2 separate regions of the Homo sapiens genome follow, and region 1 is linked to region 2. Evidence: promoter capture Hi-C in 16 types of primary human blood cells and fetal thymus (Javierre and others, 2016). All regions are on one chromosome and are shown on one strand. Each heading gives the region's core, a stretch centred on a gene start or on the middle of the fragment in contact. The rest is flanking DNA. Distances are from core to core; before and after follow the strand shown. Region 1 overlaps LOC105377675 (a long non-coding RNA gene). Region 2 holds the start of ADAM19 (ADAM metallopeptidase domain 19).

Region 1 (4,237 bases), core at 89-2,588, 83 kb before region 2:
TGTCCTTAACCTTGGCAAAATAAACTTCTAAATTGATTAAGGCTTGCCTCAGATACTTTTGGTTTATAGTACATAGATGGAAGGAATGGAAGGAACAGAACAGAGAGTTCAGAAATACACCCATGCATCTATTGTCAATTACATTTTGATAACTGAAATCAGAATATGAACTGAAACCTTGCACAAAATTAACACTAACTTTCTTATTGGACCCCACCACTTACCCAAAGTTAGCCTTTGAGTTGGGGGTTTCCACAGTATAGTGGGACCATTCCATGGTCACCAGAAAGACGTTACAGGATCCTAGCACTTACTGGGAATATCTGCACTATAGGCTCATCTGGGTCACCAGAAAGATGTTACAGGAAAGGGGTCCAGGTCCAGAACCCAAGAGAAGGTTCTTGGATCTCACACAAGAAAGAATTCAGGATGAGTCCACAGAGTAAAGTGAAAGCACGTTTAAGAAAGTAAAGCAATAAAAGAATGGCTACTCCATAGACAGAGTGCTGGTTGCCCATTTTTATGGTTAGTACTTGATGATATGCTAAACAAGGGGTGAATTATTCATGCATCCCTTTTTAGACCATATAGGGTAATGTCCTGATGTTGCCATGGCATCTGTAAACTATCATGGCACTGGTGGGAGTGTAGCAGTGAGGATGATAAGAAGTGACTCTTGTCACCATCTAGGTTTTGGTGGGTTTTAGCCAGCTTCTTTACTGCAACCTGTTTTATCTGCAAGCTGTTTATGACCTGTATTTTATGCCAGCCTCCTATCTCATCCTGTGACTTAGAATGCCTTAACTGTCTGGGAATGCAGCCTAGTAGGTTTCAGCCTCGTTTTACACAGCTTCTACTCAAAATGGAGTTGCTCTGGTTCACACGCCTGACATTACCCCCTCCCTTTTATAATCCTAAAGGTTTGTATAATTTTAATCCTAAGGGTTGCAGAGGGTTGAAAATCCATCTTCTGTAACTTCTTCATGCTGAATAGGAGCAATGATATTCTTGCTTAACTATGAGAGTCTCTTGTATTCAGGGTAGAGAGGAGCTCAGTCAGAAAGCATCAGTATGGCGAGGGCAATTCATAACTCCGAGTTTTGACAAAAGGTGATATCTGGAAGATTCATAAGTGTGCTCAGAATTAGAATACTGATTTAGATTTTTACATTACCCATCCCTCTTGTTTCTTCTGAGCAGCAGTCAGATGTCACTAGTTGGTTCAGAGGAATAAGCAGGGTTAGCCTAAATTGCAGAAACAAACTTAAAAACAACTGATGAGACTAGAATTTAATAACAAGTGTACCACAGTTTCTGAAACATAATTTCTCTCTCCAGTTTCCCATTTTTACTAAAGACAAATCACGGTAAGACTGATTTGCTTTACTATAATTGGCCTGATTAGTTGTATAAAGTGCAATGAGAATAATTATTTTTTACATAACCACTTTTTAAATTGGTTTTGATGCAACTTTATTCCATAGAAAGAATCTCAGATAAGACTTTTTCAGAGCTGAGCCCTGCCATAGGTTTGTACCCTCAAATACCTATGAGATGAGTAAATTCCCCTCCTCTTGGGGTCCCAAGATAACCTGGGGATCCTGGACCTGTAGAAAGTGACATTCTTTACTTACCACAGGTCAGAAACCCTGTACAGGGGCTGTTGTAGACAAGGTCTGAGGCCAATTCCCCAAGGGGCTTTTATTGGCTTTACAAGTCAAGTTTGATTCCTTAAAGGAAAACGTGCCATTCCAGTCAAAGCGTTGGTAAAATAACCACTGTTTCCAATTGTGTCCTGTTGCAAAAGAAAAGAGGTTCTTATTGCACTTATGCAAATAACTATATTGCCATAATGTAAGAATACTCACAAATAGTTTCCACATTCTGGAGAAATTAGGTAGAGAGAACTAAATATGCTTCAAATGTTATTCACAGCAATATACTTTACTCAATTGCTACAAGCTGCAAATAGCTCAAAAGATAAGTTTCCTTGACTCTGAAAAACAAAACAAAGGATCAGCAGCATTTTAAGCAAAGTTAAAATGATTACTTTAGTCTTCTATTAGTTCAGTCAATGCAGTTAACTTCTGTTCTGCTTGATATTCCTGAACATTTCAGCTCTCCATGAGTATTCTGAAAGTGTTTTCCTTTATTTTAATATCACAATTTCCAAAGTTATCAGAAATCTGCATTTAAGAACACCTGTTAGAGTTCTACAGTTGATTATAAACCAACTTTTGAAGAGGATTAAAAGACAACAATTGTGTGTGGATGACAAAAAGTCTTAGGACAGCCACTATTAAAGTCTCAATTGATAAGGAAATTTGCTTCCTTCTGTGGTATACAATGATTTTATGTAACAATTATAATTATTCACAATATACACCAAGTCATATCAGAATTATAAGACTTTTAAAAATAATTTTCAATATATACCAATAATACATTTATACAATTACAGCCCCCAAAAATCCAAACACCATTTTACATTTGATAATGCTTCCTGTGTGGTTTTTGTACCAAATAAGCCAAATGTGACTCTTGCATTAGTGCATTATTGATGACAAACCCAATTCTTTATAAAACCTTATAGACAAATGTATTCAATCTTAATCAGTTTGACTATAAGGTAAGATTCTCACAAACCTTTTATAACCCTTTACATATTTTTGTTAAAGAGCAAATCATAGCAGGTTTTTGCTCTAAAAAAACTTGTGCTTTTATTCCAATGTTTAATTTATAGAAAAACTGAATACCCCTTTAACTTTAACTAATATATTCACACACAGAATGTCCTACAATTAATTTTTCACACTTTCCAAAACTTTCTTAAACCTTCAGCTTCATTCTATCTAACTTAAAACAATAATTTAACCATTTAATCTAAGGAAGAAAATTTACATTCTCATGACTTCTAATGATCTTTTACCAAAAACACATTTCACTTTCCTTACACACCTTATGTGTAGAACTATTCTTCAGTAGTCTCAATTACATGTTACAATGTTAACTTTCAGCGATTTTTACTTTTGGTGAAAACCCTGGTTGGTAAGCATTTTAATTATGTACTAGGTGTGCAGCCTAGGACACAGACAGAAGTGCAGATAAGGTCTGACTTTTTCTAGCATTGCTTGGGGTATGGCTAACATCACATGTCCCCAGGCCTTATCTAGACTCTAATATGGTCAAAGTAGGTAAATTAAACAATTTTCAAAAGTGAAAGCAGCAGCTTATGAACTTAAAGCATTTAGCAAACCTAATATCTGACCTGCATAATTTAGACCAAATGTTTACATTTTAAGATATTTTTATTTTACCAATAATCTTTAAAACTGTCTTCATTTCCCAAAGATTACTTAAGTCACATGAACTATATAAAAGGCATTATATGTTTAATTTTTCTCACAAAAATATGACTGAAGCACTTATTATTTTTAACCGATTAATCAAACCTCTGTTATATACAAGCACCACACACATGATACACATAAATACACAGACAAAAGATAAAGGACTCATCTCCTAAGATGGGAATTGAACCCTGAACCCGGGCCACCACTGTGAAAGAGAAAGCACAGCCACATGGTTACAAGGTCAAGCTCCCAAGGACATACAAGACAAGAGGGAAACCTCATCCAGTTTTTTTCACGGACCTGCAGCAAAGTTTTTAACTGACCAGTTTGCTGGGCCATCTTGAACAGCAGGCTTATAGGTGTCCTAAGCCCATGTTCTATCCTAAGGTACCCCTCTTTATGACAGAACAATACAGAATGACACAGGAAACACACCAGATTGGCTACAGCTTAAGACTAGCCTCACAAATCCTTTCTTCCATTAATCAAAACTTTGTAAGAAATAGTGATTTTTACCATTCCTACAACCAGTTTGCACAGAGAGAGACGACAGCATTGCCTGAGGCAAGGTGGGGAAGGCCAGGCGTTCAGGGAAGCCACAGAAAGATCCACCCACTGCAGCGACAGTGAAGAGTTCAGGTGGCCACTTCTCGGTAGTGAAGGGATGTTTTCCAGCAGTCCCATCGACTCTCAAGTTTCCCCTTTACGGGAGGAAAAAGCTCCTCATGTCCCATGATCCTGTACCTGCCTAACCCTGTCATCCGCATCCATCAGCAAAGAGTACAAGGCAGATTATTCCAAGGAGAATAGAAGTTAACATACCGTAGTGCCAAACCTGTTCTTAGCCAAAGGGGACTTTACCGAGAGGGGCTTCTAGCCCCCTA
Region 2 (4,572 bases), core at 929-3,428:
TTGGCTCACTGCAACCTCCCCTTCCGAGGTTTAAGCGATCTCCTGCCTCAGCCTCCTGAGTAGCTGGGATTACAGGTGTGCCACCACGCCTGGCTAATTTTTTTTGTATTTTTAGTAGAGACAGGGTTTCGCCACATTGGTCAGACTGGTCTCGAATTCCTGACCTCAGGTGATCTGCCCGCCTTGGCCTCCCAAAGTGCTGGGATTACAGGCCTAAGCCACAATGCCAGGCCACCATCCTATTCTTAAATAAGATAGCTACAAAGAGAAACAGCTACATACCTTCCTCACAATTTTCACACAAGGAAATTCCTTGTGGACAAAGGACAGACAGAATTTAAAGCCATCCCTCTGAGGCTCACCGGAAACAAATGCATATCTGATTGCTTCTTCTGCCCTATTGTTTATGTAAAAATGTAGATTCACTGAGCTAGACTAAATTGTGTATTCAGTGGAAGGTTGATCAAGGACTCAAAAGAATGTAACCTCTTCTGTTTCTTATCTACTTATAACCTGGAAGCACCACCCTTTCTGCAGCTTGGAGTTGTCTTGCCTTACCGGACCGGAAGCAATGTACATCCTACACATATTGATTGATGTCTCATGTCTCCCCAAAATATATAAAAGGAGGCTACACCCCCACCACCCTGGGCACATGTTGGGACCTCCTGAGGCTGTGTCATGAGCACGTTCTTAAGCTTGGCAAAATTAACCTTCTAAATTGACTGAGACCTATCTCAGATATTTCGGGTTCACAGAAAGATACGAATTTTACAGCAGCTGGAGACTAACGGAGTCCCAAACGACATTAATGGCCAGAACCACTTATTTGATTTCCCTCATGGGTGCCCATGAGTAGGGTTTGATAGACCTACCTACCCATCATCTTCAGGAGTGCCTCGCCCTCTCCAACACTTAGCACTTCTCTAGTCAACCTGGGTTTGACTAAAGAGGCTCAGAAAAAGGAACAGATGGACGAGGTTTGAGGCTGGGATTCTACAACGAGGCTTTGCTAAAACTTGCTGAGGGATCTTAGGCAAGTCATTTCTCTCTCATTATCAGTTTCTCCACCTGGAAAATAAGGTGTGTTGCATCAGGCTCTGGAGTTATACGGATGTGGGTTTGAATCTAGGCACTGACATTAGCTGTGTAATCTTGGGCAAGTGGTTTAGCCTCTCAGGTTTGATTTCCTCATTTCTAAAACAGGGATAGTACTAGTACCTACCCCATGGGATTACTGGGCTAATGAAAAGAGATAATGTATGCAGAGTCCCTGGCTCATAAAAGTTATTTTCTCCGATTAATTAAATAAGTGAATATGTGTAAAGTGCTGAAGACAGCGTTTGACACTTAGCGTTTTATCAGTCTTAGCTATCATGATTTTCTTATTCTAGTACATAGAAAGTCCTCAATAAGTAACAGTAGTTATTATTATTTTTGGTCACATGTCCCTGTGTTTCCCTCCAAAACCCTAACCATCCCCAATTCTGGTTTTCTCCCCGCATGCAGCCCAAGGGTTTTCACGTCCCAGTGCGATTGTCTGGGCTGTTTCCTCCGCCTGATGTTCCATTTCTCCTCCTCCCGATCTCAGATGGCTTCTCCTCTGGGATTCCTCTGGTCTTCATCACTCCCTCCTCCCAGGCAGAAGGAATGGCTCCTGGATTTGTGTCCTGCTTAAAAAAAAAAAAAAAAAAAAAAAAAAAAAAAAAAAAAGAAGTCCATATAGCACTTAGTTCTTTGTGCCTGGCGGTTGGGTTAACTCTTTCTGAGCCTGTCTCCGAGAGTGGCGGCCCCCGGGGGACGGCGCTGGGTGAATCACCTCTGAGTGTCACCCAAGGCGTCTGGCACAGTGCGGGACAGTAAACGGGCCGCTGTGCGGAGAGGGGTCCAGTTTAACTCCTAGAAGCCCGAGTCCCCGACCCTCTACAGGCCGCGTCCACCACAAATCCCTCCTCCTGGGGGGCTCGGATTCTCCCTTCCCCGCGGTCTCCCTCACCTGAGCCAGCCCCGCTCCCCCGAGTCTCGCCAGCTCCTCCCCGGCCCCTCCCTCCAGCCCCCTCCGGGCTGGAGCCTCCCCTCCTCCATCCCCTGGCGGAGGCCCGCGGGGCTGGAGGCGGAGCGTCTCGGCAGAGGGCTGGGAGCCGGGTGGGGAGGCGCGGGGCGAGCCGGGGGGTTCCAGACGCGCCTCCACCGCCGGGCAGTGGGCAGGTATGGCTGAGGGCGTGTGAGCGCCGAGCGCTAAGGGCCGCCGCCACCATGCCAGGGGGCGCAGGCGCCGCCCGGCTCTGCTTGCTGGCGTTTGCCCTGCAGCCCCTCCGGCCGCGGGCGGCGCGGGAGCCTGGATGGACAAGTAAGTGGCCAGGCGCGGGGGGATGGAGGCTGGGTGGCCCGGAGACCTGGGAGTAGCCTTGCGGGTCCGGAGCGCTGGGACCGCGACCCCTGCGCCTCCCGCAACTCCGCGGGGCCTGCGCCCCCGCCGTCCCCAGCCTGGGAGCCCGGGCTTTGTTCCCACGTTCTGCGCCCTGGGAGGTGGCAGAGGTCGGGGAAACCCGGCGCAGCCAGAAAACAGCCGGTCCGCTCACTGGCTAGCCTTCCCTTCTCGCCTTCTCCTTCCTCTGTTTTTCTGCTTTTGGCTTCTCTTTCCGCCGTTCTCGGGGCTTATCCTCCTCCGTTTTCTCACGGTCCCTCGTGTCCGCTCCGCCTCTCTCTCTGTCTTTCTCTCTACCGCCCGCTGCACTCGCCAACGCCGAGCATCCCGAGCGCCCTGCCCGTGTGGCCTGGGAGCGGCTTCCTGGGACCAGGCTCGGTGCCTGCCACACTGGTGGGGTAGGACATAAAATGCCCGCGGCAGACTGTGGTAGCCTTGGCTAGGGGATGGCTCGCTGGGTATCTGCAGCCACACACTTCGGATCCCCGAGCTGGCAGGAGCCCTACTGAAGGCCAAGTCAAACGCACCCATTTCACAGATGGGGAAACCGAGGCCCACAAAAGGGAAAGGACTTGCCCAAGGCCACGCCACGGGTTGAGGTCCGCGGTGGCACTGGAAACCAGGGCTCTCTTTCCACGCCAACCCGACGGCCGCCTTCTTTGGTCCTCAGTTTCCCCTTCTGTGAAGCGAAGGGGTCTGACTCGATGTTTCCAGCTAAGATGCCGGGTGATGTCCGTGTTTCTCAGGACTAGTTTCCCAGACACCAATCCCCTCCCCGGCTCCATCCCTCGGGGGCTATAAGCAGATTTCGCGGAAGGCTTGGTCCCGGGGGGCGGTGCCCGGGTTCTCTCATTATGACCGGAGAAGGCTTAGCCCTGGCTCCACCGCTGCAGACGGGCTGGGCTGACTCCAGACTGCTGCTTGGGGGACCAACAGTCAGCGTTTTCAAATAGAGCGAGCACCGGCGGAGCGAGGGTGGGCTGGCTGGACCCCCGGGCCGCCTCAAACCCAGAGGCTGAGAGCTCTTCCGACAGTTCGGAACTTCCAGGGGCCGAGGTCGGGCGGTCCTCCCAAAGGGCTCAAAGGAACCGCCCTTTGAGCTGTTGTTCCGAAGGGGAAACTGAGGCACAGAGGAGGTTCTAGGGTAGCACCAGGCCTGTGTCAGTGCTTAGTGCAGGAGAAAAGCATGAAGAAAGACAAGGAAAGCTAGTTACTGCTCCTAGCACAGGCGCCTTCTCTGAGTTTTGAGTCCTTGGAGAACACTTGCTGTAGAATATCTGGGAAATAACGAAAAGTGTAAAAGAAAATGATCTGCAACCCCCAAATCCACAGTTGCTGTTGATATTTTGTTTTTTTTCCCCTCCACATTCTTTGTGTGTTCCTATGGATATATATTGATAAAATTGGAACCATACCCATAAGTACAGTTTCGTGTCTTGCGTTTTTCACTTCACACCATGAGCGTTTTCCACATCATCAAATTCTCTGTAAAACATGATTTTAATGACTCTATACAAAGTTTTCAAAAGTTAAAAACACGACTCATACAAATGTGGCCAAGATTTATTCAACTCATTAATGAGGTAGCAAACAGGAGAGTAAAGCTGATTCAGGGAGCATTAGAAAGGGGTGATACAAGCATTGGAGAAAGAATGTTGAAATCATGTGGCCCAGGGCAGATGCAGAAATGGTGGATGCCCCATGAAGCAAACCATAATTCTTGGTTATCTTTCTTTTTTAATTTCCTTCCTTCATTCCTTCTTTTCTTTCTTTTTTTTTTTTTCAGAGTCTCTATCTGTTGCCCAGGCTGGCATGCAGTGGCACGATCTGGGCTCACTGCAGTCTCTGCTTCCTGGGTTCAAGCTATTCTCCTGCCTCAGCCTCCTGAGTAGCTGGGCTTATTGGCATGTGCCACCACACCCGGCTAGTTTTTGTATTTTTAGTAGAGACGGGGTTTCACCATGTTGGCCAGGCTAGTCTCAAATTCCTGACCTCAGGTGATCCGCCCGCCTCGGCCTCCTAAAGTGCTAGGATTACAGGCGTGAGCCATTGTGCCTGGCCAGGTTATCTTTTTACTATGCTGAAATCACTTACATCTCTGTCAGACAGAATTCTATAGATATATATAGATTATATAACTTCAC

Evidence for each region. Contacts are between HindIII fragments. The CHiCAGO score rates a contact against its expected background, and 5 or more counts as called.
Region 1: a contact is called between a fragment that was not itself captured here and the fragment with the promoter of ADAM19 in region 2, in 4 of 17 cell types (naive B cells, total B cells, activated CD4 T cells and 1 more). The highest score is 8.7, in naive B cells.

The regions. Positions count from the first base shown.
Region 1 is chr5:157,655,409-157,659,645 of GRCh38, reverse strand. It overlaps LOC105377675 (a long non-coding RNA gene), which reads right to left. Exons shown (of 3, transcript XR_941127.3): 2 at 1,635-1,795; 3 at 1-1,117. It also overlaps a transcript of SOX30 not described here. Among named protein-coding and RNA genes, the nearest start is that of SOX30, 5.1 kb to the right of the region's middle. The HindIII fragment of the contact is 8,214 bases long and covers 1-4,237 here.
Region 2 is chr5:157,573,381-157,577,952 of GRCh38, reverse strand. ADAM19 (ADAM metallopeptidase domain 19) reads left to right here and starts at 2,178. Exons shown (of 23, transcript NM_033274.5): 1 at 2,178-2,350. The coding sequence starts at 2,257. LOC124901121 (a long non-coding RNA gene) reads right to left here and starts at 2,974. Exons shown (of 2, transcript XR_007059018.1): 1 at 2,583-2,974; 2 at 1,343-1,673. RefSeq lists enhancers at 1-163, 164-779, 2,637-2,716, 2,953-3,482 and a silencer at 2,027-2,466. The HindIII fragment of the contact is 8,826 bases long and covers 701-4,572 here.